3 separate regions of the Homo sapiens genome follow, and regions 2 and 3 are each linked to region 1. Evidence: promoter capture Hi-C in human tissues and cell types (Jung and others, 2019). All regions are on one chromosome and are shown on one strand. The core of a region is centred on a gene start or on the middle of the fragment in contact, and the rest is flanking DNA. Distances in the headings are between cores, read along the strand shown.

Region 1 (3,792 bases), core at 448-2,947:
TGGCTCCCGGACTGGGACTCCAGTCTTGGGGGCAGATGGACGGGCTGAAGATAGCAGAGATGCTCCGAGGAGCAGGCCTGGGAGAACAGTGTAGAGTGTGTGTTTGTACACTTGGGGCACAAACTTACCCCGTGTGTGTCCCTACCCTCTGAGCCCTTCTGCCCCTGGCCAGTTCCCAGTGTGTCCCCATCCCCTGCCATCTCTCCTCCAGGATCCTTTCTCTCCCTCCCCTCCCAAACGACCACATATTTAAGACCTAGAAAAGGATCTTAAATATCACAACACTCAGGGCCCTTTCTCCCTCCTCACTGTCCCAGCAGGGTCCCAGTTCCCTGGAAACCCAGGTGCCCACCCTCTTATTTGACCTCAGGACCTCCTCCCACATAATACTGGCTTCCCGCCAAGTCTCTGTCCCCCTTCCCCAGTCAGGCCTCAGTTCCCCACCAACCTCGGTTTCCGCCCCTCCCTGGGGTAACCTCCCAGGTCTCTGTCTTCTCTCCTCCACCCCACATCAGGGGTCAGGTTCCCACCCCTACTCCACACCCCACCCCAGGTCTCTGCCCCTGCCTGCTAGGTACCCTCCCAGGTCTCTGCCTTCTCTCCTACCCCCACCATCAGGGGTCAGTGCCCTCCACACTCGAATGTTGCTGCCCCCTGCCCAGTCGGGAAACTTCCCAGGTCTCTGCCTTCTCCTCCTCCAGCAATCGGGGATTAACGCCCCTCTGCCCTTCCCCTCCTCCTGCCCAGCCAGACACCCTCCCAGGTCTGAATTCTCTCCCCCTACCAGCAATCGGGGTCAGCTCCGCTCTAGCTCTCCCCCTGTCCAGCCAGACACCCTCCCAGGTTTCTGTCTTCTCTCTTACCCCCATCAGGGGCCAATTCCTCACCCCTCGACTGTGGCTTCCTCCTGCCCAGCCAGGAACCCTCGCTGATCTCTGTTTTCTCCTCCCCTACAAGTAATCGGGGGTCAGCTACCCTCTGTCCATCCCCCTGCCCGGCCAGGCACCCTCCCAGGTCTGTGTCTTCTCCTCCCCCCGCAATCGGGGGTCAATGCCCCTCTGCCCTTCCCCTCCTCCTGCCCAGCCAGACACCCTCCTAGGTCTGTGTCTTCTCTTCCCCTACCAGCAATCAGGGGTCAGCTCCCCTCTGCCCATCCCCACCCACTCCCCGGCCAGGCACCTCCCAGGTCTCCTCCCTGCATTGGGTCAGTTCCGTCCCCTCCCCTCCTCGGTCAGACCACCCACCCCCCGCCCGGGTCTGTCCCCTCTCGCTGCCCTCCTCGTGGCGCCCCCATCAGGGGCTGACCCCCCCGACCCCGCACAGGCCCAGGCCCAAACCCAGGCCCCCTCCCACTTCAGGAGCCCCCTCCCGCTCCCGCCGACAGACACCGTTGGCTGCAGAGACGTCTCAGCCGGAGCCCCGGAGCCCGCATCCCGCCCGGTGCCTAACCTGAGGCCGCCCCGCCTGCTTCTCCCGGCGCCGCGGCTTCCCTCAGGCCGGGGTTCCAGGTTGGGGCTGGGACTGGGGCCGGGCCGGGCGCACGCGGCGGGAGAAGGGGTAGGCGGGGTCCCGGCCAGGCTGCAGGGGCCGGGACTGGCGGGGGCTGGCGCGGCGGGGCAGTTACCTGTACTGCGGGCCGCCGCCCTGCGCGAAGTCGAAATACTGACTCGTCGCCATCTTGGCGTCTTCCCCGAGCCTGGCGGACCCGCGACGTCACCCGCCCCGCCCCCGAGCCGCGTGCCGCTCGCGCCTGGCCACGCGCCCCAAGCTCCGCCCCCTGCGCGAAGCCCTCACCTTCTCGCTTCCTTCTCTTAGGCTAGGGAGACACCGCCCCGCGACCACACCTGCCCCGAGGCCCCGCCTCCTACGCAGAGCCCCGCCCTCCTCTTAACCACTCAAATGTGGAGGTCTCTGCTCAAGCCCCGCCCATGCTAGAAGCCCTGCCTCTTTCTCGGAGCCCCACATTCCCTTTAACCACTCAGATGTGGTGGTATCTGATCAAGTCCCGCCCATGCTACAAGCCCCGCCTCTTACTCAGAGCCCTGCCTTCCCTTTACCCACTCAGATGTGATCTCTGCTCAACCCCCACCCATGCCACAAGCCCCGCCTTTTTTTGGAACCGTACCTTCCCTTTAACCATTCAGGTGTGGAGGTCTCTGCTCAAGCCCCACCCATGCCACAAGCCCCGCCTCTTTCTCGGAGCCCCGCCTTCCCTTTACCTGCTCAGATATGGTCTCTGCACAAGCCCTACCTCTGTCTCCGAGCCCCACCTTCTCTTTAACCACTCAGATGTGGAGGTCTCTGCTCAAGCCCCACCACCACCACAGCCAGCTAATTTTTAAATTTTTTGTAGAGACAGTGTCTTGCTATGTTGCCCAGGCTGATGTTGAACTCCTGGCCTCAAATAATCTTGCCTTGGCCTCCAAAAGTGCTGGGATTACAGACGTGAGCCACTGCATCTAGCCTCAGAATGACTCTTCAGAAGGCCCCCATGGTCTCTGCCTCCTGTGTTCACAACGTGATATAAATAAATGATAGGCCGGGCACAGTGGCTCACGTCTGTAATCCCAACATTTTGAGAGGCGGAGGCAGGAGGATCTTGAGCCCTAGGACTTTGAGACTAGCCTGGGCAACATAGCAAGACCCTGTTTCTACAATTTTTTTTTAATTAGCTGGTCATGGTGGTACATGCCTGTGGTCCCAGCTACTCAGGAGGCTAAGGTGGGAGGATCACTTGAGCCTGGGCTGTCAAGGCTGCAGTGATCTGTGACTGTACCACTGCACTCCAGAGTGAGACCCTGTCTCAAAAAAGAGAAAAGAAAGAAAGGGCTGGGCGTGGTGGCTCACGCCTGTAATCCCAGCACTTTGGGAAGGCGAGGTGGGCAGCTCACCCAAGGTCAGGAGTTCAAGAGCAGCCTAGCCAACATGGCAAAACCCTGTCTCTACTAAAAATACAAAAAAAAAAATTAGCCAGGCGTGGTGGGGCACACCTGTAATCCCAGCTACTCGGGAGGCTGAGGCAGGAGAATTACCTAACCCAGGAGGTGGAGGATGCAGCGAGCCGAGATCACACCACTGTACTCCAGCCTGGGCAACAGAGCAATACACCGTCTCAAAAAAATAAAAAAATAAAAAATAAAAAAATAAATAAATAAATAATAAAAGAGGAGAGGGAGAGGAGCAGGGAGGGAGGGAAGGGAAGGAAAGAAGAGAGAGAGAGAGAGAGAGAGAAAGAATTGAATGAATAAACAAATAAATGGAGGCAAACAGACAAATCTCTTATGCAGAAGAATTCCTAATTTGTGTAGCTACACTGCGCTTAAGGAGATAGAGAGTAACTCTACACCTCTTGAGTGTGGGTTGTGCATAGTGACTTCCTTCCCAAGACTGCAGCCTGGAAGGAGGGGGAGGGAGAGTCACTTGACAGTATTGAAACCTGACAAGCAGCAGCGTGTTTGGCGGTCCCGCGGATCCGTCTCTTGCTTCCACAGTGTTTGGATGGAACAGATCCGGGAACTCACTTCCAGCCTCCGACCACCCGCTGATTTCCTCTCTTCTTGCAACCTCCAGGAGCATCGGCTCAGCCATCTCCTGCTTCTCGGACCAACCAACGCCGTTTTTTTGGTTAGCTCCTTCTTGCCGACCAACCATGAGCTCCCAGATTCGTCAGAATTATTCCACCGCGGTGGAGGCAGCCGTCAACCGCCTGGTCAGTTTGCACCTGCGGGCCTCCTACACCTCCTCCCTCTGCGGGTTTTTTTTTTTTTTTTTTTGCTTGTTTTTTTTTTGAGA
Region 2 (3,335 bases), core at 198-2,697, 130 kb after region 1:
TGAACTCCTGAGCTCAAGCAATCCTCCTGCCTCAGCCTCCCAAAGTGCTGGGATTCTAGGCCTAAGCCCCGGCGCCCAACCTGTCCCCCAATTAGATTATATTTGTTTATACAATCTGTTTTATTTATTTATTTACTTATTTATTTTATTTTTTTGAGATGGAGTCTCGCGTGTTGCCCAGGCTGGAGTGCAGCAGCATGATCTCAGCTCACTGCAACCTCTGCCTCTCGGGTTAAAGCGATTCTCCTGTCTCAGCCTCCTGAGTAGCTGGAATTACAGGTGTGTGCCACTATGCCCGGCTAATTTTTGTATTTTTAGTGGAGACAGGGGTTTCACCATGTTGCGTGGGCTGGTCTCAAACTTCTGACCTCAGGTGATCCTCCTGCCTCGGCCTCCCAAAATGCTGGGATTACAGGAGTGAGCCACTGTGCCTGGCCTACAATCTGTTTTAGAGCCAGAAAATGCAATCAATTGTGATAATACATTGCTATGTTTTGAAATACATATATACAAACGTGCACACAACTTTATTTAAATTTAAGATGCTTTTAATATTCAGCTAACACCAAATTCACAATTTGATACTTTTTTTTTTTGGTAAAGATGGAGTCTCCTTCTGTCACCGAGGCTGGAGTGCAGTGTCCTCATCTCGGCTCACTGCAACCTCTGTCTCCCAGGTTCAAGAGATTCTCCTGCCTCAGCATCCTGAGTAGCTGGGATTACAGGTGCGTGCCACCACGCCCCAGTAATTTTTTTTGTATTTCTAGTAGAGACAGGGTTTCACCATGTTGGCCAGGCTGGTCTCAAACTCCTGACCTCATGATCCACCCGCCTCGGCCTCCTAAAGTGCTGGGATTACAAGCTTGAGCTACCGCGCCCAGCTCATAGGTATTTTTGCCCAGGAAACAACTCCATTTACTTAAGTGCAAAACGGGAGTAACTATCTGTATCTATATCTACCTCTCTCCATCTATCTCTATGTATCTTACATAACAGTGGAGGTGGTTTGTGAATTTTGTCAGAATTGCAAAGGATCTGATTTAGAACTGATGAATTCTGTCCTAAAACAGGCTGTAAAGCTTTAAATTGGTCGTGTGGGGATTTTCCATAGCCTCCCTCTCCTCTTTCTTGTCTGTCTACCTCCCATCAGTGTCTGAACATGTTCTGTATTTAGCCTTTTTTTTTTTTTTTGAGATGGAGTCTCCCTCTGTTGCCCAGGCTGGAGTACAGTGGTGCCATCTCGGCTCACTGCAAGCTCCACCTTCCGGGTTCAAGTGACTCTCCTGCCTCAGCCTCCCAAGTAGCTGGGACTACAGGCGTGTGCCACCACGCCCAGCTAAATTTTTATTTTTGGTAGAGATGGGTTTTCACCATCTTGGCCAGGCTGGTCTCGAACTCTGGGCCTCAGGTGATCCGCCCATGTCAGCCTCCCAAAGTGCTGGGATTACAGGCGTGACCCACCACGCCGGGACCTTTAATTAGCTTTTGATTTTGTTTGTTGTTGATCTCCCTCCTGGAATGCCAGTTCCACGAGGACAGGGAATTTTGCCTGTTGTGGTCACCACTGTGTCTGAGCATCTCTAACAAAGACTAGCAAGCTACAGCCCTCAGCCCTAATCTTTTTTTTTTTTTTTTTTTGAGTCTCGCTCTGTAACCAGGCTGGAGTTCAGTGGCACAATCTCGGCTCACTGCAAGCTCCGCCTCCCGGGTTCACGCCGTTTTCCTGCCTCAGCCTCCCGAGTAGCTGGGACTACAGGCGCCCGCCACCATGCCCGGCTAATTTTTTGTATTTTTAGTAGAGACGGGGTTTCACCGTGTTAGCCAGGATGGTCTCGATCTCCTGATCTCGTGATCTGCCCGCCTCGGCCTCCCAAAGTGCTGGGATTACAGGCATGAGCCACTGCGCCCAGCGTATTATTATTATTATTATTATTATTATTACTTTTGAGACAGAGTCTCTCTCTGTCACCCAGGCTGGAGTGCAGTGACACAATCACGGTTCACTGCTGCCTGGAACTCCTGGGCTCAAGCCATCCACCTGAGTAGGTAAGACTGTAGGCGTGCACCACCATGCCTACTTAATTTTTTATTTTTTGCAGAGAGAGGATCTCATTATGTTGCTCAGTCTGGTGTAGAAATCCTGTGTTCAAGCAGTCCTCCTGCCTGGATCTCCAAAAGTTCTGGGATTACACACCCGACCCACAGCACCCGGCCTTCTTTCTCTTTTAAATGTTCAAACAAAAGCATAATAATAACATGACATGTGAAAATACGTAAGATTGAAATTTCTGTGTTTATGAAGTTCTACTAGCATACAGGCCTGGCTCAGTGGTTCACACCCGTAATCCCAGCATTTTGGGAGGTCCAGGAGGGCAGATCACTCGAGGTCAGGAGTTCAAGACCAGCCTGGCCGGGGGCAGCCCCCGCCCGGCCAGCTGCCCCGTCCGGAAGGGAGGTGGGGGGCAGCCCCCGCCCGGCCAGCCGCCCCGTCCGAGAGGTGGGGGGCGTCTCTGCCCGGCCGCCCCGTCTGGGAAGTGAGGAGCCCCTCTGCCCGGCCGCCACCCCGTCTGGGAGGTGTACCCAGCAGCTCATTGAGAGCAGACCATGATGACGATGGCGGTTTTGTCGAATAGAAAAAGGGGGAAATGTGGGGAAAAGAAAGAGAGGTCAGATTGTTACGCTGTCTGTGTGGAAAGAAGTGGACATAGGAGACTCCATTTTGTTCTGTACTGAGAAAAATTCTTCTGCCTTGGGATGCTGTTAATCTATAACCTTACCCCCAACCCCGTGCTGAAACATGTGCTGTGTCCACTCAGGGTTAAATGGATTAAGGGCGGTGCAAGATGTGCTTTGTTAAACAGATGCTAGAAGGCAGCATGCTCGTTAAGAGTCATCACCACTCCCTAATCTCAAGTACCCAGGGACATAAACACTGCGGAAGGCCGCAGGGTCCGCTGCCTAGGAAAACCAGAGACCCTTGTTCACATGTTTATCTGCTGACCTTCCCTCCACTAGTGTCCTATGACCCTGCCAAATCCCCCTCTCCGAGAAACACCCAAGAATGATCAATGAATACTAAAAAAAAAAAAAAAAAAAGACCAGCCTGGCCAACATGGTGAAACCCCGTCTCTGCTAAAAATACAAAAATTAGCTGGGCCTGGTGGCGTGCGCCTGTAGACTCAGCTACTCAGGAGGCTGAGGCAGGAAAATCTTTTTTACCTGGGAGGCGGAGGTTGCAGTGCACCGAGATCAGGCCCCTGCACTCCAGCTTGGGCAACAGAGCAAGACTTTGTCATAAATAAATAAATAAAATAAAATAAAGTTTTACTAGCACA
Region 3 (3,492 bases), core at 858-3,357, 160 kb before region 1:
GGAGGTACTGCAGGCTGGAGGGACCCTAGTCCATTCATTCCAAAAACATGTATTGAGCACCTACTGTGTACCAGGCACTGTGCTAGGCCATAGGACACGGCAGGGATGAGCACGACAAAGTCCATGACCTCTGTGAGGTGGCATTTTAATATTTATTTATTTATTTTTCAGCCAGCGTCTTGCTCTGTCTCCCAAGCTGGAGTGCAGTGGCGCGATCTCGGCTCACTGCAACCTCTGCCTCTGGGGCTCAAGCGATTCTCCCGTCTCAGCCTCCTGAGTAGCTGGGATTACAGACGCATGCCACCTTGCCCGGCTAATTTTTGTATTTTTAGTAGAGATGGGGTTTCACCATGTTGGCCAGGCTGGTCTCGAACTCCTAACTCAAGCAATTCTCCCACCTCAACCTCCCAAAGTGCTGGGATTACAGGGGTGAGCCATTGAGCCCAGACTTAATTTTTTAAATTTTAATTTTAATGTACTGGTAAAGATGGGGGGGTGTCTCACTATGTTGCCCAGACTGGTCTCGAATTCCTGGCCTCAAGTGATCCTGCCACCTTGGCCTCCAAAGTACTGAGATTATAGGTGTGAGCCATCATGCCCAACCCTTCCTGGTTAATTTTATTTTATTGAGATAGGATCTTGCTCTGTCACCCAGGTTGGAGTGCAGTGGCACAGTCATAGCTCTCTGCAGCCTCAACCTCCCAGGGTCAATTGATCCTCCCACCTCAGCCTCCTGAGTTTCTGGGACTACAGGTGTGTACCACCACATCTGGCTAATTTTTAAAAAAGTTTTCTGGGCTGGGCGTGGTGGCTCACGCCTGTAATCTCAGCACTTTGAGAGGCCAAGGCAGGCGGATCACCTGAGGCCAGGAGTTCAAGACCAGCTTGGCCAATATGGTGAAACTCCGTCTCTACAAAAATACAAAAATTAGCTGGGCATGATGGCTGGTGCCTGTAATGCAATCCCAGCTACTCGGGAGGCTGAGGCAGGAGAATCACTTGAAACCGGGAGGCAAAGGTTGCAGTGGGCCGAGATCAAGCCATTGCACTCCAGCCTGGGCAACATAGCAAGACTCTGTCTCAAAAAAATAAAAAAAAAATAAAATAAAAACAAAAAACAAAACAAAACCAACAACAGCCAGCAGCAACAACAAAAAAACTTTTCTAGGCCAGGCTCGGTGGCTCACGCCTGTAATCCCAACACTTTGGGAGGCCGAGGCGGGCAGATCACTTGAGGTCAGGAGTTTGAGACCAGCCTGGCCAACATAGGAAAACCCCGTCTCTACTGAAAAAAAAAAAAAAAATTAGCTGGGCGTGGTGGTGCACGCCTGTAATCCCAGCTACTTGGGAGGCTGAGGCAGAAGAATCACTTGAACCCAGGAGGCGGAGGTTGCAGTGAGCCGAGATCGCGCCACTGCACTCCAGCCTGGGTGACAGAGGGAGACTCCATCTCAAAACAAACAACAAACAAAAGATATATAAAAATTTTTCTAGAGATGGGTTTCACCGTGTTACCCAGGCTGGTCTCAAATTCCCAGGCTCAAGTGATCCTCCCACCTCGGCCTCCCAAAGTGCTGGAATTACAGGTGTGAGCCACCACACCTGACCCTTTCTTGTTTTTTAGATGAGGACAGCAAGAAGCCCCTGTAATTTGCCCAAAGCCACACAGCGGGGAAGTGGCAGAAGCTTCTGTACGTAGGAACCCAGTCACTTCGTAGCAGAGAGGCAGACTGCGCACAGATCTGCGTGGGGAAGGGAGTGCGCCAAGCCACAGCCTGATGGGCCGGCGTGCCTGGCAGGAGGCTCAGCAAGCACAGAGACTGGGCAGCTCCAGATGCAAGAAGCAGGAGGGAGGGGGACTCCGGGAGTGCGGTCCATTCATGTCTGAATGTAGCCAACGAGGGTTTCCTAAGCACCTACCATGTGCGGACGCTTGATACCAGGGCCTCGGCGGTGAGGGCACAGGCAGGAGCAAGCTCACCTCTGGGCAAGCAGGGGTTAAGGCCAGTTGCTCCCACGTGAGGGCACCTTGCGACAGAGCCACACACCCAGTCCTCCTGCTGGCCCGCCCCTCACCCTGGTCCGTCTCCCTGTGTCTGTGGTCGTCAGTTCCACTGGCAGGGGACCTGCCTCCCTGTTGCCACCACAAGAGAGGAAAAGTTGGTCAAACAGGTGGGGAGGCCAGAGCTACAAGCCTCGGGTTCCCTCCCCACCACCCGTGCCAGGCAGGCACCCGGGCCCTGGCACCTGCTGCCTGCCCAGAGGCCACCCAGCCTCCTAGACAGGTAAGTCCCCCGCCCCACTGTGCTTTTCCACCCAGTGTGCATTGTCTGAGCTGGCCTTCCCCAGCTGAGGGTCCTTAGACTCCCCCCCAACCTCCCCCACCACGAGCTGTCTCCCCGGCTCCTCGGAAAGCAGGAAACTGACACTCCTGCGTGGGCATCTGACATAGTTTCGTAGGGATTATCTGACCGGCAGTTACTGCACCTGGCGGCCTGCCCAGGACGCTGAGCTGGAAACTTAAAAGGGTCATTGTTACCTAGGTGGCGCAGGGACCGGGGAGGCGGCAAAGGGGCACAGGTTGGTCTCTGATCCCCCTAACTGAGGAGGGGAGGGGATATCAGTCCAGACGGAGCCTGGGTTTACCTCCTGCAGCCCGAGGCTAGGAGGTGACAGGTGGGAAAGGCTGCGACCTCACTCATCTCTGAGCCTCCTGGAACTTCTTAAAAGGCTCCCAAGTTTTGAAACAACTGCGTCTCCCGCCCCCCAACCCCTCACCCTGTTCTCACCGCTGGAACCTCCAGGAGCTTTGCAGGGAGGGATTGGGGTGGCCTTTCTTTTGCTAATTTTTTTTTTGAGACGGAGTTTTGCTCTTGTTGCCCAGGCTGGAGTGCAGTGGTGCGATCTTGGCTCACTGCAACCTCTGCCTCCACCTCTGCCTCCCGAGTAGCTGGGATTACAAGCGCCCACCACTATGCCCAGCTAATTTTTGTATTTTTAGTAGAGATGGGGTTTCACCATGTTGGCCAGGCTGGTCTCGAACTCCTGACCTCAGGTGATCCAACCCCCTCGGCCTCCCAAAGTGCTGGGATTACAGGCGCAAGCCACTGCGCCCAGACTTCTTTTTCTAATCTTTACTCCTCCGAGCAAAATCTCTGTGGGATGGGGCAGAGGGGAAGGAGGAAGGAGCGCTCAGAGCCAGAGAGGGGAGGGGTCGGCAGCAAAAGTGTTTTTCTGGGTCATTTGCTCCCAAATGGGAAGACCAAGGGAGCTTCCTCGTGAGCCAAGTGTCCGATTGCATCTCAAGTCTCTCTCCAGAACCAAGAGGGTCCCCCGGGGCCGAGGAGGCATGGATGATCGCATAGTGGGGGACAGAGCGGCCCGGCATTTGGGGTCACCTTGTGGCTGTGTGGCTGCAGAGCTCCCAGGGAGCAGGCTTGCTTGAGATTCGGGAGTCCGTGGGGGTGGGCGACATGGATCCCACCTTGCCTG

The links. The method cuts DNA at HindIII sites, captures the fragments that hold promoters and counts their contacts. A contact is called where the count stands out against the background at its distance.
Region 2: a contact is called between a fragment that was not itself captured here and the fragment with the promoter of ZFR2 in region 1, in 1 of the 25 tissues and cell types used here (neural progenitor cells).
Region 3: a contact is called between the fragment with the promoter of TJP3 here and the fragment with the promoter of ZFR2 in region 1, in 1 of the 25 tissues and cell types used here (IMR-90 fibroblasts).

Annotation. Positions count from the first base shown.
Region 1 is chr19:3,867,341-3,871,132 of GRCh38, forward strand. ZFR2 (zinc finger RNA binding protein 2) reads right to left here and starts at 1,698. Exons shown (of 19, transcript NM_015174.2): 1 at 1,625-1,698. The coding sequence starts at 1,677. It also overlaps the pseudogene FTLP5. RefSeq lists an enhancer at 3,785-3,792. The HindIII fragment of the contact is 14,046 bases long and covers 1-3,792 here.
Region 2 is chr19:3,996,373-3,999,707 of GRCh38, forward strand. No RefSeq gene overlaps it. Among named protein-coding and RNA genes, the nearest start is that of PIAS4, 9.7 kb to the right of the region's middle. RefSeq lists an enhancer at 2,467-3,112. The HindIII fragment of the contact is 5,265 bases long and covers 1-3,335 here.
Region 3 is chr19:3,706,277-3,709,768 of GRCh38, forward strand. TJP3 (tight junction protein 3) reads left to right here and starts at 2,108. Exons shown (of 21, transcript NM_001267560.2): 1 at 2,108-2,285. RefSeq lists enhancers at 1,553-2,216, 2,217-2,878. The HindIII fragment of the contact is 5,666 bases long and covers 1-3,095 here.